Regions from separate parts of the Homo sapiens genome. Here regions 1, 2, 3, 4 and 5 are each linked to region 6. The links are contacts of gene promoters, found by promoter capture Hi-C in blood cells and fetal thymus (Javierre and others, 2016). All regions are on one chromosome and are shown on one strand. Each heading gives the region's core, a stretch centred on a gene start or on the middle of the fragment in contact. The rest is flanking DNA. Distances are from core to core; before and after follow the strand shown. Region 1 overlaps UBL7-DT (UBL7 divergent transcript). Region 2 overlaps EDC3 (enhancer of mRNA decapping 3). Region 3 overlaps ARID3B (AT-rich interaction domain 3B). Region 4 overlaps EDC3 (enhancer of mRNA decapping 3). Region 5 overlaps C15orf39 (chromosome 15 open reading frame 39). Region 6 holds the start of COX5A (cytochrome c oxidase subunit 5A).

What was found. Contacts are between HindIII fragments. The CHiCAGO score rates a contact against its expected background, and 5 or more counts as called.
Region 1: a fragment that was not itself captured here is called in contact with the fragment with the promoter of COX5A in region 6 in 1 of 17 cell types (neutrophils); the score reaches 5.8 in neutrophils.
Region 2: a contact is called between a fragment that was not itself captured here and the fragment with the promoter of COX5A in region 6, in 3 of 17 cell types (non-activated CD4 T cells, naive CD8 T cells and M1 macrophages). The highest score is 5.7, in non-activated CD4 T cells.
Region 3: a fragment that was not itself captured here is called in contact with the fragment with the promoter of COX5A in region 6 in 1 of 17 cell types (non-activated CD4 T cells); the score reaches 6.6 in non-activated CD4 T cells.
Region 4: a fragment that was not itself captured here is called in contact with the fragment with the promoter of COX5A in region 6 in 9 of 17 cell types (total B cells, total CD4 T cells, naive B cells and 6 more); the score reaches 9.6 in total B cells.
Region 5: a contact is called between a fragment that was not itself captured here and the fragment with the promoter of COX5A in region 6, in 3 of 17 cell types (M0 macrophages, total B cells and naive CD4 T cells). The highest score is 5.8, in M0 macrophages.

The regions. Positions count from the first base shown.
Region 1 is chr15:74,463,689-74,467,207 of GRCh38, forward strand. It overlaps UBL7-DT (UBL7 divergent transcript), which reads left to right. Exons shown (of 4, transcript NR_120377.1): 2 at 2,348-2,442. Among named protein-coding and RNA genes, the nearest start is that of UBL7-DT, 4.2 kb to the left of the region's middle. The HindIII fragment of the contact is 6,794 bases long and covers 1-3,519 here.
Region 2 is chr15:74,651,191-74,654,894 of GRCh38, forward strand. All of the region lies in intron 4 of EDC3 (enhancer of mRNA decapping 3), which reads right to left. Among named protein-coding and RNA genes, the nearest start is that of CLK3, 37 kb to the left of the region's middle. The HindIII fragment of the contact is 9,021 bases long and covers 1-3,704 here.
Region 3 is chr15:74,546,968-74,550,494 of GRCh38, forward strand. All of the region lies in intron 2 of ARID3B (AT-rich interaction domain 3B), which reads left to right. Among named protein-coding and RNA genes, the nearest start is that of ARID3B, 7.5 kb to the left of the region's middle. The HindIII fragment of the contact is 739 bases long and covers 931-1,669 here.
Region 4 is chr15:74,629,645-74,632,972 of GRCh38, forward strand. It overlaps EDC3 (enhancer of mRNA decapping 3), which reads right to left. Exons shown (of 7, transcript NM_025083.5): 7 at 914-3,302. The coding sequence ends at 2,968. It overlaps CLK3 (CDC like kinase 3), which reads left to right. Exons shown (of 13, transcript NM_001130028.2): 13 at 63-557. The coding sequence ends at 239. Among named protein-coding and RNA genes, the nearest start is that of CLK3, 15 kb to the left of the region's middle. RefSeq lists enhancers at 1-181, 2,387-2,446, 2,507-2,656. The HindIII fragment of the contact is 1,742 bases long and covers 1,153-2,894 here.
Region 5 is chr15:75,202,567-75,206,310 of GRCh38, forward strand. C15orf39 (chromosome 15 open reading frame 39) reads left to right here. Exons shown (of 3, transcript NM_015492.5): 2 at 3,433-3,744. The coding sequence starts at 3,483. Among named protein-coding and RNA genes, the nearest start is that of C15orf39, 2.6 kb to the left of the region's middle. RefSeq lists silencers at 1-282, 403-452. The HindIII fragment of the contact is 6,893 bases long and covers 1-3,744 here.
Region 6 is chr15:74,936,784-74,940,460 of GRCh38, forward strand. COX5A (cytochrome c oxidase subunit 5A) reads right to left here and starts at 1,290. Exons shown (of 5, transcript NM_004255.4): 1 at 1,132-1,290. The coding sequence starts at 1,231. RefSeq lists a silencer at 984-1,543. The HindIII fragment of the contact is 6,406 bases long and covers 1-3,677 here.

The sequences.
Region 1 (3,519 bases), core at 211-2,710, 470 kb before region 6:
TACAATCTCATTCAGCTTTCATCAACCATTCCAGTTGGGTGGAGGCTGATCATCTCTCTGCCATTTTCATAAGTTATGTCATAGATTTTCACATCTGTCACATCATTCATTTCTCCAAAGAGCCTTAGTTCCTTTTAGTAAGGAATGGTATTTAGAAGCCAAGTTTGGATGCTAGGTGTGTTTATTGCTACTGAGATGTCATTATTTCCAGTCTATTTCAGTGACTAGACCTAGCAAATAAATGAATATTGATATACACACCCATTCATCTATATTTCTATGAAATATATTTAAATATGTGTGCATATAGATGTGTATATGTATATATAGATCTATGTATATGTGAGCATATATATGTGCACATATATCAAAATATATATGTATATATAAAATATGAGTTCACACCAATACCTCAAATTCCAATCCAATACCACATATTTTCCTCTAGTCTTCCTCTTCTCTATAATTTTACCTCCCTTCTGCAATAGTAGGAAACTTGATTCTCATTTTCCACAATATACTTGTATTTTCTCATGTTGACATTCATGGTACCTGATATGGTTTGGCTCTGTGTCCCCACCCAAATCTCATGTTGAATTGTAATCCTCAATGTTGGAGGAGGGGCCTGGTGGGAGGTCATGATGTTTGGATCATGGGGCAGACTTCCCCCTTGCTGTTCTCATGACAGTGAGTTCTCAAGAGATCTGGTTGTTCAAAAGTGTGTAGCACTTCCCCCTTTGCCCTCTCTCTCCTGCTCTGCCATGTGAAGATGTGCTTGCTTCCCCTTCACGTTCTGCCATGATTGTATGTTTCCTGTGGCTTCCCCAGCCATGCTTCCTGTATAGCCTGCAGAACTGTGCGTCAATTAAAGCACTTTTCTTTATAAATCACCTGGTCTCAGGTAGTTCTTTATAGCAGTGCAAGAACAGACTAATACAGTACCATAACAATGGAGCCTCCTCTTCAACTTGATTCTTGAGTCCTTTTGACATAACCCTGGAGGTTTTTGATAGCTCCCTGCTATCTAGCATGACAAGAGTTCCTAGCTAATCTTGTACTTCCTGCCCTAGGCATAAAAATTAGCCATTTCTTCAAGAAATTCATATGGTTTTCTGTGGGAAATGGTATATTAAGACCACAATCTGGGCACTAGGGATGCTTATTGCTACTGAATTGTTTGTTACTTGTAAGCCACATTAGTGGATGGAGCTAGGGGGAGATCTATATCCATAGAGATATAAATAGAGAATATTTATACTGCTACTTCAAATTCAAGACTACAGAGGTTGGGTTTGGTTTTGGCTTTTGGTTTTATGGGTTGCTTTTTGTTTTGTTTTTTTTGAGACAGGATCTCCCTCTGTTGCCCAGGCTGGAGTACAGAGGTGCAATCATGACTCACTGCTGCCTCAAACTCCCAGGCTCAAGCGATTCTCCCACCTCAGCCTGCCAAGTAGCTGGGACTACAGTTGTGCACCACCATGCCCAGCTAATTTGTGTATTTTCTGTGGAGGCAGGGTTTCACCATGTTGCCCAGGCCGGTCTTGAATTACTGGACTCAAGCAATCTGCCCACCTCAGCCTCCCAAAGTAAGACTGCAGAATTTTAATTTAATATTTTCTATATTACATCTTTATTTCCTTTCTTCCACACTGAGAATACTAGTTCTCAAGAACATAAGGGACAACAGTATTTAAATATCTATTTTCATTTCCTTTATCCCATATCACATACCCAACTGTCTCAAAATAACAATACTAATGATACTATCACCACCAATATAATTATTGAGACGTTTAAAAAAATGTTTGCATATGCCCTTCTCATTCTATCCCCTCCATTCATTCTCTCCATTTTAACAGATGTGCTGTATATTATCTGAGCCTATACTCATTACTCTACCTTCCTCTTTTTAACTCTCTTAATACTACAAAGAATTCCATGTTTAGGCCAGGTGCGGCAGCGCACACCTGTAATCCCAGCACTTTGGGAGGCTGAGACAGGCAGATCACCTGAGGTCAGGAGTTTGAGACCAGCCTGGCCAACATAGTGAAACCCTTCTCTACTAAAAATACAAAAATTAGTGGGGGTGTGCTGGCGGGCACTGTAATCTCAGCTACTTGGGAGCTTGAGGCAGGAGAATTGCTTGAACCCAGGAAGTGGAGGTTGCAGTGAGCCGAGATCACACCATTGCACTCCAGCCTGGGCGACAAGAGTGAAACTCCATCTCAAAAATAAATAAATAAATAAAATCAGAATTCCATGTTTAATGCTTTCCACTGGTTTTTGTTGCTGTTGTTGTTGTTGTTTTGTTTTGTTTTCTGACACAGAGTCTCACTGTATCACCCAGGCTGAAGTACATTGGTGCAATCTTGGCTCACTGCATCTCCACCCCAGGTTCAAGCGATTCTCCTGCCTCAGCCTCCCAAGCAGCTGGGATTACAGGTATGTAGCACAATGCCCGGCTAATTTTTGTATTTTTAATAGAGACAGAGTTTCACCGTGTTGGCTAGGCTGGTCTCAAACTCCTGGCCTCAAGTGATTCACCCGCCTTGGCCTCCCAAAATGTTGGGATTACAAGCATGAGCCACTGTGCCTGGCCCAGTGGTTTTTATTACTGAACCCGTTCTTTAGTGGATTTCCTGGAAGGACTACAATATTCTCTGTGAATGATATTCCCTAAACTTTTGCATATTAATAGCAGTTTATTTCTGGCCTTTATGCTTGAAAATCAGTTTGCTAAATATAAAATTGTTGGCTCACATTTTCTTTCTTAAGATATTTCATTTTCATCTGATGACAGAAATCTAATTTTCTTTCCCTTACAAGTTACTTGCTCTTTTCACCAGGTTGCCCAAGTAGTTTTTAAAATTTTTTGTTTAATTTCCAGTCATTTTACCTGACTACATCTTGGTGCTGTTTGTTTTAGGTCAGTAGTCTCAGTTATGTGGTATTCTCTTCCAAAATGTAATTTATATTTTTTTTATTTCAGTAAAGATTGATTTTTGAATTACAGGTTTTAGAATAGTTCCGTTCTCTTGCCTTGGTTTGGTTCTTAAGAGGACTCATGTTAGCCATATGTTGTATCTTTGTTGTTTCTCTTCAATATCTGCCACTTTTCTCAAATCTTTTCTCTTTCTTCATTTTTAAAAATATTTTTTAAATGTTCCTCCTTTCTACATTCTACTTAAGGCATCATCTGTTGTATTTATTTCTTCTGTGTTCCTTTTGCTTTAGTCTTCATTTTGTATTTATTTTTTATTTTTTATTTTTTGAGACAGAATTTCGCTCTGTCGCCCAGGCTGAAGTGCAGTTGCGTGATCTCTGCTCACCACAACCTCCACCTCCCGGGTTCAAGCAATTCTCCTGCCTCAGCCTCCCAAGTAGGTGGGATTATAGGTGCCTGCCACAGTGCCCGGCTAATTTTTATATTTGTTAGTAGAGATGAGGTTTCACCATGTTGGCCAGGCTGGTCTCAAACTCCTGACCTCAGGTGATCCACCTGTCTCAGCCTCCCAAAGT
Region 2 (3,704 bases), core at 697-3,196, 280 kb before region 6:
AAAGAATTTCAAATTACAAGTCTGGATCCAGAAAGACCCTGGCCAATCCAGAGTGTGATCACTGGACACCATTATTTAGCAGGGCAGGCCCAAGCTAGAGAAATGTCTGATGATCCGTGACTGCGGGAGACAGAAGCCCTGCCAAAGAACCTGAAAGGAATTTCCAGAGAGAAAAAATTGGGGTTAAACAAAGAGCTAAATTTAGTTGCTTCCTGAATGTGTTTTCCCAATCAATAGACCTAAAACAACACTGTTCCCCATCACAACACACACAGCTGGCAAAGAGTACTGCCAAGAGGAGTATGAGCAATTAGTGAATAATAGCTTATGTACTGTTGGTTGACACCACTTAGCATGAAGTCAATATATAGGGCACCAGCAGCAAGCTGTCAGAATCCTAAATCCCAAGCCATCACCAAATGGGTAATAAATATGTTGTTCTTTTGCTACCATGGGGATTAGTACAAAAGTACTTGGTATTCTAGGACATGAATGCCACAAGGCCAGACTGCGGGAGCTCTCCAAGTTACTTCTGTAAACTGCTGGTCCATTCCTGAGAGACTGCAGTACTAAAGAAAAGACTACAGAGATGTCCCTCAACTTACAATGAGTGTTATCCCAATAAACCCATCATAAATTGAAAATATCTAAGTTGAAAATGCATTTAATACACCTAACCTACCAAACAAACATCATAGTTCAGCCTAGCCTACCTTAAACCTGCTCAGAACACTTACACTAGCCTACAGTTGGGCAAAATCATCTGGCAAAACAGTACACTGTAGAATACTGGTTGTTTACTCTCATGACTGCACGGCTGACTGCTTTGACTCCTGCTGCTGCCCAGCATTAGAGAATATCATACCTGCATATCGCTAGCTCAGGAAAAGATCTAAATTAATAATTTCAACTACAGTTTCTACTGACTATTGCTTTCACATCATCCTAGAATCAAAAAATGATAAGTCTAACCATTGTAAGTTGGAGGATCATCTGTAGTCTATTTGCCATTAAACTGCCCTTCTCTTCTTATATTTTTCCTTTTTTTTTTTTTTGAGACAGAGTCTCGCTCTGTCACCCAGGCTGGAGTGCAGTGCTGCGATCTCCGCTCACTGCAAGCTCCGCCTCCCAGGTTCACGCCATTCTCCCGCCTCAGCCTCCCAAGTAGCTGGGACTACAGGCGCCCACCACCATGCCCGGCTCATTTTTTTGTATTTTTAGTAGAGACGGGGTTTCACCGTGTTAGCCAGGATGGTCTCCATCTCCTGACCTCGTGATCCACACGCCTCAGCCCCCCAAAGTGCTGGGATTACAGGCATGAGCCACTGCGCCTGGCCTTTTCCTCATTTTTATTCACATTTAGAAGAGAAAAGGAGATGTGATGGGTAAGGTTTTTGTGTTTTTTTTTTGAGACAGGGTCTGACTCTGTCACCCAGGCTGGAGTACAGTGGCATGACTTTGGCTCATTGCAGCCGCAACCTCATGGGCTCAGACGCTCCTACTTCAGCCTCCTGAGTAGCTGGGACTACAGGCACATGCCACCGTGCCCAGCTAATGTTTTCTATTGTTTGTAGAGACAGGGTCTCACTTTGTTGCCCAGGCTGGTCTTGAACTCCTGAGTTCAAGCAATCCTCCCACCTTGGCCTCCCGAAGTGCTGGGATTACAGGCATGAGTCACTGCACCTGGCCAATGGAAAACCCTTTACCAGCTGGGCGTGGTGGCTGACGCCTGTAATCCCAGCACTTTGGGAGGCCAAGGCAGGCAGATCACTTGAGGCCAGGAGTTTGAGACCAGCCTGGCCAACACGGTGAAACCTCGTCTCTACTAAACATACAAAAATTAGCCAGGCATGGTGGCAGGTGCCTGTAATCCCAGCTACTCAGGAGGCTGAGGCAGGAGAATCGCTTGAACCTGGGAGGTAGAGGTTGCGGTGCGCTGAGAGCTGAGATCACGCCACTGCACTGCAGCCTGGATGACAAAACAAGACTCTGTCTCCAAAAAAAAAAAAAAAACCTTTACCTCTCTGGGCCTCATGTCCTCATCTGTAAAATGAAAAAATCATACTAGGTGATCAACTAACCTAACACTAACATTTTATGCTTTTAGACTGTTTCCCTATATATTCTAGTTTGCCTTTTTTGATCCAAACATTTGGATAGCAGATCCAATGGAGAAAGTGTCCCCAGCTCTGCACTGACTGCCCCTCAGTGAAAACCTGCTTGAGGATTGTGCCTTGGAACTCGAACACAGAGAAAACCCCCCTGTAGAAGAAGTTGCTCAGTAAGATAACTGCCTGCTTGCTCTATTTCCAGCACAGACGCTGCTTGGCAAAAGGGCTTCCTTTCCACTCCTTGTCACTGTTAAGAACAAAGAGAAAAACCAGATGGCATGAAGCTGCTGGGCTTCTTTCCCCCTCATTGTCATGAACCAGTGGAGTGCAACTGGTCACTACATACCACAAGACGCCACACCCAAGTTTCTGGCTAAGGACCAGCACATGTGGTTTGTGGTATGTTTATTGATAGGAAAATAATTTTATATGACAGAACTTTTCACTTCAGTCATTAAAAACAAAAGAAGTGTGAAGATCAAGTTGGGGAGCCAGAGTGTGTAGCAGAAAAAAATTTCTACCTCTGCTTTTGTCCATGTTAGTAAATATTTTCTCATGCTCTGTTAGTTCTGAGAATTCTCCCTGATTCTCACTGTTATTCTCACTCTTAGCCACTTGACTCCAGGGCAGATCATAATCTTCCCAAGTTAAAAAAATCCTGCAGTGTAGGGCTGGGCGCGGTGGCTCACACCTGTAATCCCAGCGCTTTGGGAGGCCAAAGCAGGTGGATCACGAGGTCAGGAGTTCAAGACCAGCCTGGCCAACATAGTGAAACCCCATCTCTACTAAAAATACAAAAAAATTAGCCAGGCATGGTGGTGTGTACCTGTAGTCCCAGCTACTCAGGAGGCTGAGGCAGGAGAATCGCTTGAACCCAGGAGGTGGAGGTTGGCAGTGAGCAGAGATTGCGCCATTGCACTCCAGCTTGGGCAACAGAGTGAGACTTCGTCTCAAAAAAAAAAAAAAAAAATCCTGCAGTGTAAATAGTTCCAGGGAAATCACACGCTGCATAAACCAACAGCCTCAGCAGCAGCACTTGGACTACAGATATAGAGAGCTAGCAGCAGGAGCAGCTTCTTTTACAAAGAGGGCAGTAAAAAAGGAAGCAGTCAGAGGTAGATAGTTGGCTGATCTGGAGGAGTACCAGACTTAACAGATGATAACTGCCTTTGAAAGGCTTAAAACCTAGCAATTTAAATTAAACCCGATTCTGAGCTAGGCTGTTTGCCTTTACACAGGTGTTAAAAATCGAAGGACTTCGGCAAGTTACAGTGTCACTGTCACTGCCACTTAAGGAAACCACCTTAATAAACAGGCATGCCTACCAGAATCTGCCAGCAAAAGACTGACACAGTTCAGCAGCTTGTTTTTTTTTTAGCAGTCTTTCTTAGCCTGACAGTTGGCCTATTTTTTTTTTTCACATGGAAAGCACATGCAAGCTACTATACTCAGCGAAACCAAATACAACAGAGTCCTACTATTATCTATAAAAAAAAAGCCATGTCTGGCTTTCCTCCAAATGCAATTAGCTGCGTCCACAGTTCTCCTTATAGCAGCTACCAGCATTCAAGATTTATATTCCTTATATTCCAA
Region 3 (3,527 bases), core at 50-2,549, 390 kb before region 6:
ATTTTAGAAGGGCCAAAAATAATAATATTCTTGGGGAGAGCCTATAGAAACCATTACAGATCATTAGACTAGCTTGTTTTGTTGTTCAAAATCTTTACTTTATGAAACTTAATGGAGTGCAAAAATAGAATATCCCTTGCTCCAGCAACAATTACAAAGACCTTTACAATTGACACAGATCTTTCCCCCCCGCCTTCCCCCTCCCCCGCCGACACAGAGCGCACTCTGTTGCCCAGGCTGGAGTGCAGTGGCGCGATCTCGGCTTCCTGCAACCTCCGCCTCCTGAGTTCAAGTGATTTTCGTGCCTCACCCTCCCTAGCAGCTGAGATTACAGGCATATGCTACCATGCCTGGCTAATTTATTTTTTTATTTTTATTTATTTTTTTGTATTTTTAGTAGAGACAGGGTTTCGTCATGTTGGCCAGGCTGGTCTCAAACTCCTGACCTCAAGTGATCCGCCCGTCCTGGCCTCCCAAAGTGCTGGGATTACAGGCGTGAGCCACCGCGCCTACCCTGACACAGATCTTATTGTTAATGTGATACAGTGTCCATCTTGTTCTTTTGAACAACAAACTTTTACAGAGGCTTCTTTGTGCCAGACCTGTGCTGTATGAAACAAGGCATGTTTCTCTCTCAGGGAGTTCAGGTCTAGCGGTGGCAGTGTGGGAACCTCAAGGGGGATTCGAACTTGGGTTACAATAATTTGATTCTGTCCTGAGTCTACTGGAGCCCAGCCACCCAGTCTGCTATGGCAGAGATATTTTAAAACAGAGTTTTGTTTCAAACATTCACATGCCAAAGTTTAAAAAGTTAATTTTGTCTACAGCATAGCATAGCTTGGCAAACCAACAGGAATACTCAGAAGTATTTTGCAAGATTTTGGGGTAAGGGAGGACAGGCATCTGCTAACTGAAAAGTGAAACTGGGAAAGCTTAAGGGTTCCAGAGATTATTCTTTGCATCTGAAATCCCTTACTTAGAACATGTAAAGTCAAAATTATTTCGTGGATTCTCTTTGAAGAAACTCTTAGAAAATATTTGCTTCTCAAGGCCTGGATTGTTAAGGTGTGGTATTATTCTCTGACACCACAGTGATGGGAAGATGGATAACGCCATTGAGCCAAGTGTTCTAAAACCCATCAGATTCCTATGGGCAGAGTAAATAATTGTAAAACAAGAAAACAGACAAAGAACTGAGTGTTCCTTTTCTCAAAGGAGATCATACAGCCAACTAGGGGATGTTGCTGGCCTTTTGGGGGTGGTGTTCTCCCCCTCTGGTAGAAGGTGGTTCAAGCAGTACAGGCTGGGTCTGTCTTGAGCCCATTGGTAGAGCTAGGTTACTAGAAGGGTGTAGACCCCCTTCGATAGAATAGAAAGAAGAAAGATGGCTTGGCAGGCATGTGGGGCCAGGGTGCATGTGTCCGATTTTCTGCATACTTTGGCAGTCGCTTTGGTTACTGCATGTGGCTGTGATCCAACCACGGGCTTAACATACTTTCACAGCCAATTCAGTTGAAAGCACTGGGAGCCATTGCACAATAAATGTTGGCCCCCTCCTCTACCCTTCCCCTTCTAGCATGTTTTACAAGATTTTGTTTTGTGACTGCCTTCTAGGATGGAAGGGTTTAATTTCAGAATATTTGCAATTAAAGAATTCCTAACGTCCTAAAGCTTGCTAATCACATGTGTTAACAAGGACAGGGTATTACCAATTTCAAACACCTCCAAGCCGCTTGGGGCACCCTCAGCTCATGACAGCGTGGGTTCTCTCTGAATTTGTTGGAGAAGCACTTCTGCAGTACAGAAGCAAAGGAAGCTCCATGACAAATGGGAAGAATTGCCATGTTAGATGGGCACTGGGAGAGACAAAGGGAATGTGATTTGAGAAGAGGGAGTTTCGTGTTTGTTTTTGTTTTTTTGGGGTTTTTTTTGCCTATTCTTAACCATGAGCAAAATCAATCTCATCTTACCGTGAGAGTCGACTTCCTGCTGGGCAATTAGTGGAGACTACTGTCCATTTCTTCTAATGCCATGACTGACTGACTGGTGTCCAGAAGCCATCCCTCTAATTAAGGTGTAGTCCCTTGGGATAGGCCTACTTTTCTTTCTTTTTTTTTCTTTTTTTTTAGACGGTGTCTCGCTGTCACTCAGGCTAGAGTGCAGTGGCATGATCTCGGCTCACTGCAGGCTCCACCCCCCGGGGTTCACGCCATTCTCCTGCCTCAGCCTCCTGAGTAGCTGGGACTACAGGTGCCCGCCACCACGCCCGGCTAATTTTTTTGTATTTTTAGTAGAGACGGGGTTTCACCGTGTTAGCCAGGATGGTCTCGATCTCCTGACCTCGTGATCCGTCCGCCTCGGCCTCCCAAAGTGCTGGGATTACAGGCGTGAGCCACTGCGCCCGGCCGGGATAGGCCTACTTTTCTTGGTAGATACTGCATGACTATCATTAGCTGGGTGTGGTGGCACACGCCTGTAGTCCCAACTACTTCGGCAGGCTGAGGCAGGAAAATCACTTGAACCTGGGAGGCGAAGGTTGCAGTGAGTCGATATCATGCCACTTGCACTCCAGTTTGGATGACAGAGTGAGATGGTGTAAAAAAAAAAAAAAAGGGAAAAAGAAAAGATACAGCATGACTATGGAACATTTGAGGCTTTTTTAAAAAACTGTGCAAAGTATTGCCCAAAAAAGAAAATGTTCGTAGGCTTTCCTCATGTTCTTTATAGAGCTACCTTGCATGCCCTTGCCTTCTGCAGTCACAATGGAATCCATCTAGTTGAGTGGTTCTCAATTAGAGGTGACCCCTGCCCCTTCCCAGGGGACATTTGGCAGTGTCAGGAGACATTTTTGATTGCCATGACTGGAGTAGGGGGCAGTGTGCTATGGGCGTCTAGTGGGTAGACCAGGGATGCTGCTAAACATCCTATAACGCACTGGACAGCCCCCCAACAGCAAAGAGTTATCTGGTCCAAAATAACAGTAGTGCCAAGGTTGAGAAACCGTGCTCTAGATTGTGCAACCAGAAAGAACATAAGCTTCGCTATCATCAGACAGCACCAGAGACTCTTTTCCTTTGTGTTTCAGTCTCAGTAACTGAGGAGTTTGGCAGCCTTGAATTTTCTTGACTTCTGCTTTCAATATCTGTACCGAGCTCATGTCTTTCCTCTAGTCATCTAGGTGAACAGACTGTCACTTGGGAAAGGTTTGGGGCCTAGAACTTGAGATCTCTTACTTGACTCTATCAGTGATTCTTTCAGCCCAGCACTCCATGATATCTTTGATATCTTTGGTGATATATGAGAGAGCTTGGTTGCCCTTGTAGACATTAACCCCAAAAGGTTAAAGTGTAAATACTTGGCAGACTTGTTACCTAGTAACAGATTTAATTATTAAATCAGCATTGGTTTTGGAGCCAGAGGATGTGGATTAAGACCCTACTTCCCGCCAGGCGCAGTGGCTCACACCTGTAATCCCAGCACTTTGGGAGGCGGAGGCAGGCGGATCACGAGGTCAGGAGATCAAGACC
Region 4 (3,328 bases), core at 774-3,273, 310 kb before region 6:
GGACCTGCTGTGGCTTCCCACGACCCTGCCGTCACACTGAGGCACCTTGTGTCCCTGAGCAGAGTTACATGCTCCAAGACTCCCTGGAGCACGTGCAGCTGTTTGACCTGATGAGGAGGATGTTAGAATTTGACCCTGCCCAGCGCATCACACTGGCCGAGGCCCTGCTGCACCCCTTCTTTGCTGGCCTGACCCCTGAGGAGCGGTCCTTCCACACCAGCCGCAACCCAAGCAGATGACAGGCACAGGCCACCGCATGAGGAGATGGAGGGCGGGACTGGGCCGCCCAGCCCCTTGACTCCAGCCTCGACCGCCAGGCCCCAGGCCAGAGCCACCCAATGAACAGTGCAATGTGAAGGAAGGCAGGAGCCTGCAGGGGAGCAGACTTGGTGCCCAGCTGCCAGAAAGCACAGATTTGACCCAAGCTATTTATATGTTATAAAGTTATAATAAAGTGTTTCTTACTGTTTGTAACCCCTGGTACCAGTGTGTCCATCTCCAGGCTCCTTGCCTTCCCCTTACCTGACCTTATTAATAAAGTCTTTCTTAGCAGTTCAGCTTGTGGAGAGCTAAGTGTGAACTGGGCCAGGCACAGAAGAGCTAGGCAGGGGTAAGACCAGAATTGGGGACATCCTCTGGGCCCAGGCTGCTGAGCAGTCCTAGATGGCACCTCTGCCCTGCTGGCTTCTGTACCTCTCAGCCCCAGAGAACCTAAGGGAATCAGCCCACCGTGGCTAGCCAGGTGGGGTCTGGTTTTCCACAGCCTGCCAGTCCCATTACTGGCCAGGACTTTAGGCTGTATGTGCCCAACAACTATGGCCTGCTGAGGGCAGGAGACGAGTGGGGCGGGTTCCTAGGCTGGGACAGACAGCACCTCATGACAGCCTACAGAGCAAGTCACACGGCACAGGACTCAGTCAGTCATTCAGCTTTATTTCAGTGCTGGTTTTTGGTTCCCTAAGAGCTGCATGAGTGCTAGGCTTCACCACGTGACTGGGGGCCCCTTGGGAACTGGGTACTATGGGCAGGATGCCCCTGAAAAGAACTGAAGACAGAGGAATCATACTTCTCTTTAATACCTCTGGGGAAGGCCCAGGCTAAGGATGAGGGCAGGGACCAGTCCCAGTGCCCCCTGGGGAGAGAAGAGGGAGAAGCTTGGGCACAAACTCCCAGTGGCCCTGCAAGGCTATCATCCCTGGATCTTGCTGGAGTGGACAGTCTTCTGGGCCAGGGTTGTTCTAGCTTGTTTCTCACTGTACCTAATCAGGGGGCCTAACTGCATTAACAGGCAGCCAGAACCTACCTACCAAAAAGCCTGTAACCTAGACTGCTCCTCAGATTTTGGCCAAGAGAGGGCCCCGGCTTGGGAGCTGCTTGGCCCTGAGAGTGAGCAGAGGCTCAGAGAATACACAGCACAAGGGTTACAGTCCCTGGCCTCTTCCCATCGCTGGAGACAATTTAAGACTGAAGGGAAGATGAGAGGAGGGGCCAGCCCTCTACCCTGGCTCATCTGCTTCTGGCTATGTTCCTACAAGGGAAGTGATAACAGCCTGAAACCCGTGGTACCAGGGCCTACCCTATGTCCACAATCCTTGGTGAGCCCTTCTGTCCACCCATCCACCCGCTCAGCCAGCCTGGGCAGACACAGAGCAGAAGCAGCCTGAAGCCCTGAAGCAGGCTTAAACACAAGTCCTTGACAGGAATCCCTGCCAGGATTCCAGGCATAGATCCTGTTCTACCAGCCTCCAGGGCCTAGAGCTTGGCACCTTAGGATTTGAGCATCAGTGTGTTCCTATGGTTGGAACCCACACCAGCTAGCTCATCCAGAACTAGCCTCATTTTGCCATCTTTGAGACAGGGTGCTGGCCCCAAGCCTACTCATCTAGACTGGACAAATGTAAAAGGTTCAAAGCCCAGATGATGTAAGAGCTGGGGTGGAGCTCAAGCACGGGAGCCCATCTGCCTGCTCTGGGATGACAGCTGCAAAGGACCGTTTCAGGGGAAGGGCAGAGGGGATGAAAGAGTAGGTGGGGCATGTATGTGCGGGCAAAGGGCTGGAGGAGTGGTGGCCTAGGACAGAAGCACCAGGAAGCCTCTTCTGGTTCAGCACCAGGCTCCCCCAGGGATATCCCCATCTGAGGGGTCTGGCCCCAGACTAGGCAAAGGCTCAACCTGCTCAGCTTTGAGGGTGGGGGCGGGCACTGCTGGCAAGATGGGCACTGTGGTTCTACAGTAATATAACCTTATACTACCTGTGCTGAAGACGACAGAACAACATAAAATCCCAATACAGTAACACCATCCTAATGCCGCCCCCTTCCCTACCTCTGAGTGATGGAGGGAAAAGGAGGGAGAGATCCTTGGAAAAATCAGCATAAAACTTGGATCAGCTCAGGAGTAAGGGTCAAAACCCCCCAAATCAACTTGTGGGGCTAGGGGAAGGCCTGGTCTGTCACAGCCCTGGACATGAATGGAGAGTGCAGGTCTGCCCTCTGGTGGACAGCTGCCGTGCAGCTGGTTCTACAGAGGAAGGGCTGTCTGCGTGGGGAAAGCAGGGGAGACACAAAGCCACAAGCTCTGAAATAGAGCAGGTACAGGCCCCCAGACAGGACCTGGCCCACTCTTCAATGTGTGTGCCCAGGCCCAGTGGCTGTAAACCTGAAACACAGTCTTGAGAGCTGCCTACGGCTGTAAACAAAGGCCCACCTGGCCGTGCAGGGGGCTGAGGGTAGAGATGCCTGGAGTTGCTGCACGCTCAGCCTGCCACCCAGCCCGGAACCCAGTGGGAAAGACTTCCCTGGCTAAGAGCAAGTGACAGGTCAGTTTTAAGTAAGTTCTGTTCTCTCACAGAAGAAACAAACCCAAAAGAGAAAAAACTTTAACAAGGTCCATGAAGCTTCATATCCTTAAGGCGTTTGTTATCAGGAGCAGCAGGGGACAGCAGAGTCCTGCCTGCGCAGGAACCCTCTAAGCAGAGTGCAGTGGGATAACAAACTTGCAGCCAAAGGGCGAGTGGTAGTTGATGCCCACCTCCTGGAAGACCTGCTGGGGAATGCCAATGTCGCACAAATAGATACGGCCTGCGTGCTCCCCCAGTGGCAGAGGCAGGCCCAGTGCCAGTGACCATTTGGCATCAATGCCCTGTTCGACTTCATGCACAGGAGGGTCTATGCTGAGTACTGGTGCCCGGTTCTGGTTGGCCCAGGCCACAGCTGCCTTGTACCAGGGTTGATCGCGCAGGAAGACGTTCTCAGGGCAATCCAGGCAGTTGATGACCAGGTCCACAGGGCTAGTGGGCAGATCTGCAGGTGGAAAGAGTGCCATCTGA
Region 5 (3,744 bases), core at 1,151-3,650, 270 kb after region 6:
GCCCAGGCTGGCAGGATCGCCCTGAGGCGGAGGCTGCCCGGACCCTGTCGCCGGGCCGCCCCTGTTCCGGGACCTCCCGCCGGTCCGCGGGCGTCGGTGTGGGGCTGGGTGCGCGGGCCTGCCTGCGTGCACACGTATGCCCGGGGCCCGAGCGAGGGGAGAGCGCAGTTCTGGAATGGCGTGTGTGCAGATGTGGGCCATGCACGTACGTGCAGGCACGGGTTTGCATGCGTGGCGGCGGCCTGTGTGTCAGCCTGCTGGATGCACGTGCGTCTCGGCGCCGCCGGGAGGGGCTTGGGGACACCCGGAAGCCCGCCAGGTCGGGTGCGGCGGCAGCCTCTAAGCGAAATCGGCTGTGGGCCCTAGGCACCCGAGTTATGTTCAGGGCGGGTAGGGGAAAGGGGATAGAGACCGATCCCGTTCGCTTTCCCCTCCACTGGAGACTTTGGGCTGCCCCAGGTTGGGTTGTAGCGTCTGGAGAGCCCAGAGCCTCAGGTAGGGAAGGTGGGAGATGGGAGAACACTCGGCGAGGCCCGATCCAGCCCTCCGGGAGAATCCAGATGCTGGCCACAATTGGGCAGGAATCGCGCTCTTCTTCCTGGTCTTTGCCATCGGCCATCCCGAGGCCCCTAGAAGGTGAAAGTGGGAACAGAGAGCTGTTTCCTTTCCCACTGCGTAAGGCAGGGGCGGTGCTGCGGTGGTGGGCTCTTCTCCGGGACCCTGGCCTGGGTGCTGGCTGAGTGACGTTGGAGCTTGGCAGAGAGGATCAACAGAGCTGCCTCTCAAGGATGATCTGAGCCTGCTCCCTGGGCACCTGCCCTTTCCGAGAGCTTGCTTGCCTCAGTATGGGTCAGGGAAGGAGGCACCTACATTTTGGCAACTGTCTTGAGTGGAGGAGTCGTCTCCCTTGAGAGAGTGTATCCTGGGCTTTCCACCTCCTACTGGCAGGAGATCAGGTCATTCCCACACCCCTAAGAGTTCTCTGTTGGCTCCCTGAAGCCGCCACCCCTCCCACAAAGACTCCTGAGGGTCCCAGGTGGTTTCCTGTCTATTGACTGGGTCCCAGATAGGGGCCTCAAGAAGTCTCCAGAGCAAAGGGTATTCCATGGGCTGAGACCCAGGAGAGAGGGACTCCTGGGGTGGGGGTGGGGACCCAGCAGACCCCAAGAAGCATGTGGGGGAGGTGAGACCAAAGTCAGTACTTAACCCAGAGTGTCCCAAGGGTGGAGGTGGGGAGGATCCACACTTCAAAACCCTACAGTTCCTTCTCACAGCATTGCTGTGGAGTGAGATGGGGGCTTTCACCCCTCGATAGCAGGTTTCTATCATAGGACACTGCTGTTGGGACTGTCACCTGTGTCCTAATGGCCCCTCTGTGTCTTCTCTAGGCTGGCCTGAGGTGTGGGGTTCTGTCCAGGAGATGAACCAGCTTGCTTTCTGGGTCTGCCTTGGTGGAAGTGGGCATTGGCCCCCACACTAGCCTTGTGTTTTCTAACCCCAAAATGTGCCGGTCTAACTCAGCCTGTGGCTGTCATTGGCTCCAACCAGAAGAGGCAAGGAGAGGGCTGGTCCTTGCTTGCCAGTCACTGAAACCTGTGACACTTTGCCCTAATCATAGCAAGATTGAGCTAGGTGGTCCTTTCTAAGCTACTGAGAGTTTCCAGGAATAGGGTGCTGGCTGGGGGAGGTAGAGGTAGGTCAGTGTGGCCCCAGAAGACAGGCTTCAGATGAGCCCCTAACGGGTTACTGGGTGCCTGCTGCCCTGAGGGGCCTCAGTCCCCATCCTTCCTTGGTCTTGTCTTAGAGCTTTGTCTTTTTTCAGCACATAGTTTTTCCATCAATACAATGGGAGTAGTGGCTAAGTAGCACTCTGGCCCCTGGGGCCTCCCTCCCTGGACTTTTTTCTTTTCTTTTCTTTTCTTTTTTTTTGTTTTGTTTTTTGTTTTTTGTGTTTTTTTGAGGTGGAGTCTCACTCTGCTGCCCAGGCTGGAAGTGCAGTAGCACAATCTTGGCTCACTGCAACCTCTGCCTCCTGAGTTCACGCAATTCTCCTGCCTCAGCCTTCAGCGTAGCTGGGATTACAGGCATGCACAACCATGCCTGGCTAATTTTTTTGTATTTTTAGTAGAGACAGCGTTTCACCATGTTGGTCAGGTTGGTCTTGAACTCCTGACCTCAAATGATCCGCACACCTCGGCTTCCCAAAGTGCTGGGATTACAGGTGTGAGCCACAGCACCTAGCCACCTCCCTGGACTTTCACACACGCCCCTGACGCTGTCTTGGCCCCACCCTGCCATGTGCCTAGGAATCGCCATCTGCAGCTTGGGGGCTGGGGGTGGATCCAGGCTCCTCATGCTCTGGGACCTTCCTGCTGGTGCTGCAGCACCATCTGCTGGGCTGCCCTGACTCCTGCGGAGGGGGAGGAGTGGGGCGAGAGGGGTGTGGCTTGTACAGACTGATGTCCCCAGTTACCTCTCCTAGGGGACTGCTCTCCAGAGCCAAGTCCAGTATCTCAGCATTGGCTTTGGGCCTAGGGACCTGGGCTGGAGGCCCGACTCTGCCATTTTTGACAAGATCAGCAGGTCAGAGGAGTGTCACAAGAAATCTGTGAATTTGTAGACAATACTCAGATTCCATGTTTTGGCTGCAGTGGGCATCACTGTGGCATCTTGGAATAGGACCCTGTGGTGGGAGGCAGGAGGCCTGCTTCTCGTTGTGTCTATTTCATTGGTGACTTTGGGATGAATGGGTCTCCTCATCTGTATATGAGGGGGTGGCGGCAGGGTATGTCAAGTGACCCTGAGACCCAGTGCCCCTACAAATTCTGAAATCCCAAGAAGGAGGGGATCTTGGGAGTTGTATGGAGGAAAATCGAACAGAAGGGGCTCCTGGAGTGGGGATGGGTGGGGGTTCTGTGTAGAATAATTCATTAAACAAAGGGTTCTGCAGCTTAAAATATACGAGTTGGGGTCAGGAGCAGTAGGTGGTTCATGCCTGTGATTTCAGCATTTTGGGAGGCCAAGATGGGAGGATCACATGAGTCCAGGAGTTCAAGACCAGCCTGGGTAACATAGTAAGACCCTGTTTCTACATAAAATACTAAAATGAGCCGGGTGTGGTAGCAGGCACCTGTGGTCCCAGCAACCTGGGAGTTGGGAGAATCACTTGAGCCCAGGAGGTTGAGACTGCGGTGAGCCAAGTTCATGTCATTGCACTCCAGCCCGGGCAACAGAGTGAGACCCTGCCTCAAAAAATACATACACGAGTTGGAAACCTCTGTCACGTGGCTCATGCACTCACAGTCTTAACTGAGCATCATTTAAGCGCCAGGTTCTTAGGTGTAGCCGTGAGCTGATGAGAGCAGCAGCCCTCTGTTGCTTTGCCTGTAGCCTGTTTTCCTGACAGCCCCTGCCTTTCTCTCTCTATCCCAGGTCAGAAGTTGAGTAGCAGGGGCCTAGGAGGGCTCGAAGCCTTCACAGCGATGGCAGAGAAGCGACCCCTGAGAACCCTGGGGCCTGTGATGTATGGCAAGCTGCCCCGCTTAGAGACAGACTCCGGGCTCGAGCACAGCCTGCCCCACTCTGTTGGTAACCAGGATCCCTGCACCTACAAGGGGTCCTACTTCTCCTGCCCCATGGCAGGTACTCCTAAGGCCGAGTCTGAGCAGTTGGCGTCCTGGACCCCATACCCACCCTTGTACTCTACCGGTATGGCAGGACCCCCACTTCAGGCAGACAACCTGC
Region 6 (3,677 bases), core at 40-2,539:
ACCCAGCTAAATTTTTTGTATTTTTAGTACAGACAGGGTTTCACCATGTTGGCCAGGCTGGTCTTGAACTCCTGACCTCAGGTGATCCGCCCGCCTCGGCCTACCAAAGTGCTGGGATTACAGGCATGAGCCACCGCGCCCGGCTGAGTTCTTTTTTTAATTTTTAACTTCAGCATACCCTGAAACGAGTTTCTGAGTTCTTATGTTTAAATACGCATGCATAGTTGCCAGTGATGCAGGTTCAAAAATAAAATATAATATGCATGCATAGAAGCTAAATTTCACGGACCAAGATCGAAGTGCAATTACTGTAATTATTCTATGGTGGTGGACTCAAAACCTCCCAGCACACATATAAAGGGAAGGAAAATAGACAAAAATCAGAAGCACGTCTCATACTCCAGCAATCAGGCTTCTATTACAAAGGGGAAAAAACACGAAGCGTTCCTATGCTTGTAAAACCCAGTATTCCTGTGTCTGTGACATTCAGTTTTCAAAAGAGTGATATTTTTATCATAAGCCCTATCAAAACTCTGGCTATCTTCCGGAGATCAGGAAACAACCACACACTTCCATCTATTTTAAACGTGGAAGAATTAGAACGTGGCACAGCAGACCCTAAAAATGATGGAAAAGGCTGTGAAGGTGACACACTAATCGCTAACCGAGAAATGCCTGATTGAAAAGTATAATCGTGTGTCCCATACGGAAGTATATTGTGTCCTCGGACCCCAAGCGGCGTGCCCGGAGGCTCAATGTCACCTTCGCCGAGGCGCTGCAGGCCGGCGGCGGCCACTCTCGGTCAGGTGGCCGCAGGGTCGGCGCTGGGGCAGGGTCATGGCCCGGGAACCGAAGGGGAGCGCTGCGTCCCCTCCTCGGCGCCCACAGCAGGTCCACATCTGACCTGTCCGCGGTGGCACAGCCAGGAAGTTGCGCGGGGGGAGGCCCCGGGGGCGCGCTTTCAGGTCCTCCACTACTCGAGGCGGCGGGCAGGGCGGCCCGCGGTCACCGGGTTCAGTAACCAGGGTAGGGCAAGGGCTAGGCCGGGGAGAGCCCGCCCCGGAGTGGCAGCGGGGACCCAGGTCACCGCAAGGACACGAGGGCGCGGGCAGTGGCAAGCAGGGGCCTTACCCACGGCGGGGCCGGGGGTCCGGGCGGAGTGCAGGAGGCCTCGAGGGTCGGCCCGGGTGGTTGCGGCCACAGCGCAGCGGCGGAGAGCGGCGCCCAGCATGACGGCGATGGCGGCGCGCGGGCTGAGGACAGAGAGAAGCCGGTGTAAGCTCGCGGGTTGCTCCGGAGCGGGCGGGGGCCGGACAGGCTCACAGCGGGCGGAGCACGTAGGCCCGCCCACTGCGACTCTGGCGCGTGGGCGGGAGGAGCCACCGCGCGGCCGGCGGCGGCGGGGGCTACGGCGGCGCGCTGAGGACAAACTGTTAGCCTCGCGTCCCGCCTTGTCTCTGGTCAGGTGACGTGCAGCTGCCATCCTGTAAGTAGGAATGGAGGCGAGGGAGGAGCAACCGACCGTGATCTTGTTCGAGTCAGGCCCAGGAGGGCACTTAATCACCTCAAAATAGGAATGACAGCAATAACAACAAACTATAATAAAAAATACGTACTTTGCGCCCGGGCGCTGTGGCTCATGCCTGTAATCCCAGCACTTTTGGGAGGCCGAGGCGGGCGGATCACCTGCGGTCGGGAGTTCAAGACCAGCCTGGGCAACATGGAGGAACCCCCGTCTCTACTAAAAATACAAAATTAGCCAGGCGTGGTGGCGCAACGCATGCCCGCAATCCCAGCTACTCGGGAGGCTGAGGCAGGAGAATCGCTTGAACCCAGGAGGAGGAGGTTGCGGTGAGCCGAGATGGTGCCATTGCACTCCAGCCTGGGCAACAAGAGCGAAACTCCGTCTCAAAAAAACCAAACAAAACAAAAACCTACTTTGCTTAGCCCCGCCTTCTCATTGTGGCATAAAATAAAACAGCGAATGGGGGAAAGAATGCCGCTGGACGCGGTTGCTCACGCCTGTAATCCTAGCACTTTGGGAGCCCAAGGCGGGCGGATCACCTGAGGTCGGGAGTTCGAGACCAGCCTGACCAACATGGAGAAACCCCTGTCTCTACTAAAAATGCAAAATTAGCCAGGTGTGGTGGCGCATGCCTGTAATCCCAGCTATTTGGGAGGCTGAGGCAGGAGAATTGCTGGAACCCAGGAGGCAGAGGTTGCAGTGAGTTGAGATCGCACCATTGCACTCCAGCCTGGGCAACAAGATCAAAACTCCATCTCAAAAAAAAAAAAGGCCTATGCGTAAGGGATTTTATTAGTACATATTCTTATATCACAAACCAGCTTGCATAAAAAATGAGTTAAACTACTTCATTTCACAGATTAGGAAAGAGGCTCAGAAATTAGGTTGCTGCTGGCAGTCAAGGATCTTTTCGCCACATCCCCAGTTCTGAGGACTCTCACCTGAATGTTTCCCATCTCCTACAGGAGGGCTCCTGAATCCACGATGGCTCTGAAATAGGGTTGATCAAGTTCCACAGTTGTTGCATCTTATCTCACTAGCTACATCCTAACTTTGAGCCCCTGGGCAGTCAAGGACACCTCTCCCAGGCCTGAAGTATCTGGATGCTGCCCAGAGTTAATGAGACATTGTATTCTGTCTTGCTGTCTCCCATTCTCTATCCCTGGGCACACTGAGGAAAGAAAAGGTGGCCATTCATGTGCCACTTCCTCACTTCAGGCCGACTCTCCAGGGCCTCAGCATCTGCCCTTCTCTTTTTCCTCCCTAGCAGTGTGGCTTCAGTGGGTAGGAACCTGGCGGGGAAAAGGATTTTTAAAATGTTTTCAAAGCACCTGCCCTCACCGTTTCCCACCAACCTAGTGCTGGGGCTTAGAAAACAATACCACAAAGTGAAGGCCTATGAAGCAGTTTCTCTCTGACCTTCTGCCCTCTTGTCTCTTGCCCCTTACTCTCCCTCCAGGCATGCCACAGAAACTAGAATCCCTCCTCCCCAAGAGGGGGTCTAGAAAGTAGAACCCCTTTGTCCCAAAGCCAGCCATAAAGCCTAAAAATATTGCTCTAACCTTTCTCTTTGCCTTTCTATGTAACAGCTGGCCATAAAGAAATTAAGGCCGAGCACGGTGGTTCACGCCTGTAATCCTAGCACTTTGAGCCGCCAAGGCCAGGAGATCACTTGAGGTCAGGAGTTTGAGACCAGCCTGGCCAACATGGTGAAACCCCATCTCTATTAAAATTACTAACATTAGCCAGAAATCACTTGAACCCAGGAGGTGGAGGTTGCGGTGAGGCGAGATCACACCACTGCACTCCAGCCTGGGTGACAGAGCTAGACTCCGTCTCAAAAATAAAATTTTTTAAAAAAAAGGAGAAAAGGAAACATGGCCAGGTATGGTGGCTCATGCCTGTAATCCCAGCACTTTGGGAGGCTGAGGTGGGAAGATCACCTGAGGTCGGGAGTTCGAGACCATCCTGGCCAACATGGTGAAACCCCGTCTCTACGAAAAATACAAAAATTAGCTGGGTGTGGTGGCGCACGCTACTCTGGAGCCTGAGGCAGGAGAATCACTTGGGCCCGCGAGGTGGAGGTTGCAGTGAGCCGAGATCGCACAACTGTACTCCAGCCTGGGTGACAGAGTGCGACTCCGTCTCAAAA